Regions from separate parts of the Homo sapiens genome. Here region 1 is linked to region 2. Evidence: promoter capture Hi-C in 16 types of primary human blood cells and fetal thymus (Javierre and others, 2016). All regions are on one chromosome and are shown on one strand. The core of a region is centred on a gene start or on the middle of the fragment in contact, and the rest is flanking DNA. Distances in the headings are between cores, read along the strand shown.

Region 1 (3,304 bases), core at 318-2,817, 6.2 Mb before region 2:
ACTGCCAGAAACATTCCCTTACTTAAAATCCCTTATACCTTGCCTTTCTTTAAGCATCATGACTATGGGCCAGGCATGGTGGCTCACACCTGCAGTCCCAGCACTTTGGGACGCCAAGGCCAGAGGAACACCTGAGCCCAGGACTTCAAGGTTGCACTGAGCTATGACTATACTACTGCACTCAGCCTGGGCAACAGAGTGAGACCTTGTCTCTAAAAAAAGTTAAAAAAAAATTTTAATTATGACTACAGAAAAGATAAAAAATAATGTTTATATAACACCACCTAATTACTAATCTCTTCAAATAATCATAGTATAAAATAATGCTCTAATAGCAATCTACAAGAGGTGCCTTTCTATAACTCTTCAGTGCATCATAATGCACTGAAGTATTTGAACAATTTGCCATATGAACAGGTGGGTAAGAATTGTGGAGAAGAACAATAGGGGGCCACTGGGAGGAAATATGTACCAGCATGGCGGGTCATGTAACTGGGAAAACCCAGTCAAGATATTTCAGGCCAAGGAAAGAAAATGTTCTCATGACCTAGAAGCAAAGGTAATTGTATGTGTATGTATTTAAAAAGTATGTATAAAAAACCTCACCTGAACCTTGATTTCTAAACATGCAAAAATCCTTTTCTCCTCTTCAAACTCCTTCTTAGAAATCTGGCAACCTGGCAGCACTGGGGGAAAAAACAGTAACATGAGACATCAGCATTTCTAGCGCGTCACAGACTTAATTAAAAAAGAAAAAGAAGAGCAAAACACCCTCTGGGGCCACTTCTGCCTTCATCCACACAAAACCAAACGGAATGAAAAGGGAGGCTAGAGTCTGTCTCTGTGTTGAGGGCAATTCTTGGGGACAGAGGTCTGCTTGCAATGGCTCTGAAACATGTAGCTCACCACCAAAGAGCTCCTAGAGGCCCCTCTTCTAGGAATCCCACCTCTAGAACTTCCCCATCAGGTCTTGACAAGATCCTGTCCCGCGGACACTTCCAGATCTAAAATTCTCATCCTTCTTGCTTGAAACGTTCATTATGGGGCTTAGCATAGACTTCTTTCTTGCGGTCATTTAATTGTGGCAGGCCCGAAGACAGGCTAAAGGGAACCTAGAGCATTTGGTCAAAGCAAATCACATTTACAAATACGGCCACGCACCCTGTCAGCCCGTCACACATTCACAACTGCACCCACCTCCGTGGGGACACGCCCCGTCCCTGCCACGCCGTCTGAGACACACTGTCCCTCGGCTGCTCGCGTGCACACAGGCTTGAGGATCCGGACACGACACGCTCTGTCCGTGACCCAGCCCTCCCCACCTCCAGCACCCCCGATGCCACCCCCACCCTCACTGCCGGTTCCAGTCGGGCCCCAGTAAAGCCAGCCGAGCCCTCCCAGCTTCACCCGGGCTGATTACTTCTACAGACACGACCAACTCACCATGCAGAGTCCAAGAACCTTAAGGACACCGGAAAAGGACCCAGAGACCTGTGGTTAGTTTGGACCCAGAGGCTGATGGGAAACAAGAGCCTGGAAATGCTCGCAGGCTGGGAGAGGAGCTTCTGGCAGGCAAGCTCGCCCCGCCCCTAAAAGGCCTGTGCCCCGGAGACTTCTGGGAAATGTAGTCCACAGCGGCAGAGTCTCCGGAAGTTGAAACCTGGACAGCAGGGATGCTCCCAGCATGCAACTTGGCTTCACCTGTCAAAGGCGCTTTTTTCGAAGACGCCCGGGAGCTCTTGCTTTTGCTTGAGGGTCTTTGGTGTTGACTGAGAGCGAATTAAAAGGTTCTCAGCTTTCGCTAAGGAACGCATTCTGGAGTCTAGAACAGGCGAAGATGGGACTGGGGTGTCTGGGGACTTAGACGTGAGCGAGCAAGGGAATCCGGGGTAAGTTCGCTGGAAATGACCTGCGCGACACTACCAGTTTACCTGGGTATGAGCGCCTGGAACAGTGTCTGGCAATTGAACAGATGGGTGTGTCTTGCTGTGAGGGAGTTTCTTAGTTCGATTCGGTGTCTGGGACCCTGCGTGGACCTGTTTATGTTCATGGGATGTTTTCTAAATTTATGCCTGTGTGAGTCTGTTTTATTAGGTGTGAGATGAACTGTGTTACAGATTTTATATGCCGCTGTTGAAAGACAACAATAAGTGGTAGTGAGTGGATATTGTGACCGTGGAGACTTATGGCAGTGCAAAGGCGGCCATAAACAATGCACAAGCAATCCAGCATGGCTGTGTTCCAATAAAACTTGATGGATTATAAAATTTGAATCTCATTTTTTATAGAGTATGAAACCATTTATTCTGAAGCACACACTCATACTCCAAAAACAATACTATATATTCCCTCTCTCTCTCTCCTGTGTGTTTGCGTGTGTGTGTGTGTGGGTGTGTGAGAGAGAGAAAGGTTTTAAAGGAGACAACTAACTGATTCTGAGGTTAGGGCAAAAAGATTGGGGCTGTGGTTGGTGTGGTAAGAACCTTTGGATATAAATACTTTTTTAAAAAAGAATTGTCTAAAAATATTAAAGCGAAATTTTATATTAAAACTAACAGAAAGAAAAGGAAGTTACTTTTTAGGGGCTCTTTCTGGTCACTGATATCACCTCTCTCATCCTCTGCCATCTCTCACCTCCTGGTCTCTCTTGCTTATCAAGAGAAGACTAGAGCTCTTGGATCCCAGCTTTTCCCCTGCCTCAGCTGAGGCCACTACCCTGGTTGACTCCCATGGTGACATGGATGCCTCATCCAGTATCGTGGGTCTGAGTCCTCATCTGCAGGGTCCTTGAGCTTTCCTCGGCACCCATCCCCGTTTCCCATCTGGGACTTCATTATCATCAGCATCTGCTCCACCTCCAAAACCACTGGTGGAAGCAGCCTCCTCTCTTCCCATGTTACTTGCTCAATGACTCCCACAAGTACTACTCTGAATATTTTGGGGGTCTGATTTTTTTTTAATTTTTTATTTCCATAGGTTTTTGGGAAACAGGTGGTGTTTGGTTACATGAGTAACTTCTTCAGTGGTGATTTGTGAGATTTTGGTGCACCCATCACCTGAACAGTGTACATGGCACCCAATTTTTAGTCTTTTATCCCTCACCCCCTTTCCACCCTTTCCCCCAAGTCCCCAAAGTCCACTGTGTCATTCTTAGGCCTTTGCATCCTCACACCTTAGCTCCCACTTATGAGTGAGAATATACGATGTTTGATTTTCCATTCCTGAGTTGCTTCACTTAGAATAATAGTCTCCAGGCCGGGCATGGTGGTTCACACCTGTAATCCCAGCACTTTGGGAGGCTGAG
Region 2 (3,406 bases), core at 116-2,615:
GAAATGATCTATCTTGACTATCAATGTCAACATCCTGGTTGTCATATTATACTACAGTCCTGCAAGATGTTGTCATTGGAGAAGACTAAGTTGAAGATAACACACAATGTCTCTATTATTTCTTACAACCTCATATGAATCTACAATCATCTCAAATTTAAAAAAAAATTTAAGGAAGTTTTAAGAATTTCATTTTCAAATATTTGCTAGATGAATTAAGTTTTTACCCCCTTCAAATCTTGAAGGCAAATTAATGCTCCAGGTTGTACTGTTCAATAGGAAGACTATTAGCCATATATAGCTGTTTACATTTAGATTTATTAAAATTGAACACAATTTAAAAAATTCGTTCCTCAGTCAAACCAGCCACATTTCAATTTCTCAATAGCCATATGTAGCTAGTGGCTACTATATTGGAGAGCACAGATATAAAAAATGGAACTCAGTTTTGCAGAAATTCCTATTAAAAAGCATTGTTCCAAAGCGTTACACGACTGACACCCTCACTTTACAGGTGAGAAAACTGAAGCCAGGAGATATCACTATAATACAGCGCTGCACACAATCGTGCTCATTCTCACCATATTATGCTCACACACTTCTTTCCCCACATTCACTGCCACAGGCGAACTCTCAATGAATCATTCACTACATTTATATAATTTCATGGGAATCTATTTTAAATTCATGACCATGCAAAGAAAAATCAATTTCTTACAGGTTATAAGATACTCAGTCGCAGGCTGAATCTGATTAAACAGACATCAGTCACCCTCAAAGCTATAATCAAACCATTCCCAAGACCCTTCCGCACACAATACTAAATGCGCCACTAATAGCCTCAAGCATAATCTGACGCACATCACACAGGCATGGCCACTACCCACTCTGCACCCACAGAGGACACTCGGACACGCGCGCGCACAGACCCACACACACACGCACACACACACACATGGCCGCAAAGAATGCGTCACACTTCCGAACCCCGTTGAGCAGCAACCCGGTATCGTGGCCACTGCGTCACGGCCAGAGCTGTCAGAGAGAAATCCAGACCTTACCTGACAGCCTTTTGCAGCTCTTCTAGCCCGGGATGACATTCCCCTGAAGGCACCACGGCAAGACTCAACCTCTTTGTGTGAGATTCTCTGGAATTTCTGGGGCGTTACTTGAGTATAATGAAATAGGGTAGGCTCGGACCATAGTAGGGTAAGTCCCACAGTTCGAGCAAGGGAGCCTCAGGGATCGTTCTGTTCTGGAGCGCCGGACCCGATCTTAGCTGCTGGGCCTGCGCAGACACGATCCGGCCGGTTTCCAGTTGTAGACTACATTTCCCGAAGGCCCCCGCGTCGCTGCGCAACGTCGTACACTTACGCTGTTATGTCTTGACGCACGGAGCTTGTCTGCGCCGGCCAGGTGAGTGGGCGGCCTCACCGGGAACCGCTCGCAGCTTTTGGGTTGCTTCATCGAAAAAGTAGTTCTTGTATGGTGCTGGGAATACCGGTGTCCTGGCTGGGGCTCGGTGCTGACAGGAACGGGACGGTGCTCTGGCTAATTACTTATGGAAGTCGGCCTTGCGCTTGCGGAGGGGTGTCGGCACCGTCACTTTGGTTCTGGCAGTGGCGGGGGTGTGGTGCTGCTAGTTGTGTTCCTCCGCACCGAATTTATGAGTGTGCCCCTGGAGCCCCTGCCGCGGACAAAATCGGCACCATAACTTTGGGATAGGGAGGCTAGAAGGAGGCGGGTGTTACTAGTAGTGTTCCTCCGCCCTGGACGTGTGCGTGTGCGCTTGTGCGGCCGCGGGGTGGGCTCACCTGCCGCCTGTTAATGCTCCTAGCGCTTGGCCCCTCCCGGGCCGCAGTACTCCTCGTGTGACACGGACATCATTAAGCCAGCTGAGAATCGTGCGGTTACAGCTGCTGCAGTTTCTTTGCAGAGTAAGAGGCTCTTTTTGAAGTTTCCCTGATGGTGAGGCTTTACCCCTGGAAGTGTCTTAGGAAGAAGACCACTGTTAAAGATGTCCTATTCTAGCTTGACAGCCCTGTGGGGAAGACTAATCCCTTTCTAGAGGTTGGTGTTATCCTAAATTGTTTCGTCTGCTCCGAGAGCTCTGATGTTCTATGATGCTTATTTCTTTTCTCGGTTCTGCGTTTTCCAAGAGAGGCACCCAGAGGAAAAGAATATCGCACTTCTGAAAGTCTTGTGTGAAGTTCCTGTTTTCTTTCTAACCTCAAATTTCTTCCTTTCCGAAACGTTTTCTACCTCCAGCAACATCTTCCTAAGGAAGAACCAGCCATGCTAGTGACTGGTCCTTAGGCACCCCATAAATGATGCTGCGGGGATGGGATCATCAGTTTAGCTCTACTCCCCAGCCACACTACACCTCTCCTTTCCACCCAATGATACAGCAGTCCTTTCTGGTCTAAGATTTTTTTGTTTGTTTGTTTGCTTTTTGAGACGGATTCTCGCTGTGTCGCCCTGGCTGGAGTGCGGTGGTGCGGTCTCGGCTCACTGCAAGCTCCGCCTTCCGGGTTCACGCCATTCTCCTGCCTAAGCCTCCCGAGTAGCTGGGACTACAGGCGCCCGCCACCATGCCCGGCTAATTTTTTGTGTTTTTAGTAGAGACGAGGTTTCACCGTGTTAGCCAGGATGGTCTCGATCTCCTGACCTCGTGATCCACCCGCCTGGGCCTCCCAGAGTGCTGGGATTACAGGCGTGAGCCACCGCGCCTGGCCTGGTCTAAGGTTTTGATGAAAAATAACTGTACTTTCTGGGGGAAATTTGAAGAGTTTTAAAATTTTAACTTTATTGTGGATGTTTTCAAGCAGGCTAAAGAATAATACGAACCCCAACATGTTCAACACCTAGCTGTAATTAAAAACATTTGTAAATACCTTTGTATCAATCCTTCCCCGTTTTTTCCTATAGTATTTCAAAATTGTATTTTATCCTCTTATAAGCATATATTACCAAAAAGGACATTATATTTTAAAATAACCATGATGCTGTTATACCAACATAAAAAAAAAAACTAACAATAAGTTTAAAACAATAAATTTGTTTCTTATGTTGGTGTAACAGCGTGGTGGTTATTTCATAATCTTGTATACCCCCATATTCAGATTTTCCCAATTATTTCAAAGACATATTTTTACAATAGGTGTGTTCAAATCTGGATCCAGATAGAGTCCACACATTGCATTTGGTGGCCAAACCTGTTAAACTTACTTAATGCATGATAGTTTCCCTCCTGTGTTTTGTTTTGGTTTAATTGGTGCTGTTGATTTGTAGAAAAACTAGATCATCTGTCCCGTAGAATATTCTGTATACTGCTTTTAGCTAATTGCTTCTTTGTACTGTCTTATAATTTGTTTTCCGTTCCTTCATATTTCTGTAAACAGGCAGT

The links. The method cuts DNA at HindIII sites, captures the fragments that hold promoters and counts their contacts. A CHiCAGO score of 5 or more calls a contact.
Region 1: a contact is called between the fragment with the promoter of ZNF283 here and the fragment with the promoter of ZNF571 in region 2, in 1 of 17 cell types (total B cells). The highest score is 10.5, in total B cells.

What each region holds. Positions count from the first base shown.
Region 1 is chr19:43,825,584-43,828,887 of GRCh38, reverse strand. ZNF283 (zinc finger protein 283) reads right to left here and starts at 1,567. Exons shown (of 7, transcript NM_181845.2): 1 at 1,444-1,567; 2 at 607-686. RefSeq lists an enhancer at 1,510-1,709. The HindIII fragment of the contact is 6,325 bases long and covers 1-3,304 here.
Region 2 is chr19:37,592,751-37,596,156 of GRCh38, reverse strand. It overlaps ZNF571 (zinc finger protein 571), which reads left to right and starts at 1,365. Exons shown (of 4, transcript NM_016536.5): 1 at 1,365-1,416. It overlaps ZNF540 (zinc finger protein 540), which reads right to left and starts at 1,281. Exons shown (of 5, transcript NM_001172225.3): 1 at 1,062-1,281. RefSeq lists enhancers at 804-853, 1,084-1,203, 1,244-1,443, 1,040-1,722, 1,674-1,723 and 2 more. The HindIII fragment of the contact is 14,201 bases long and covers 1-3,406 here.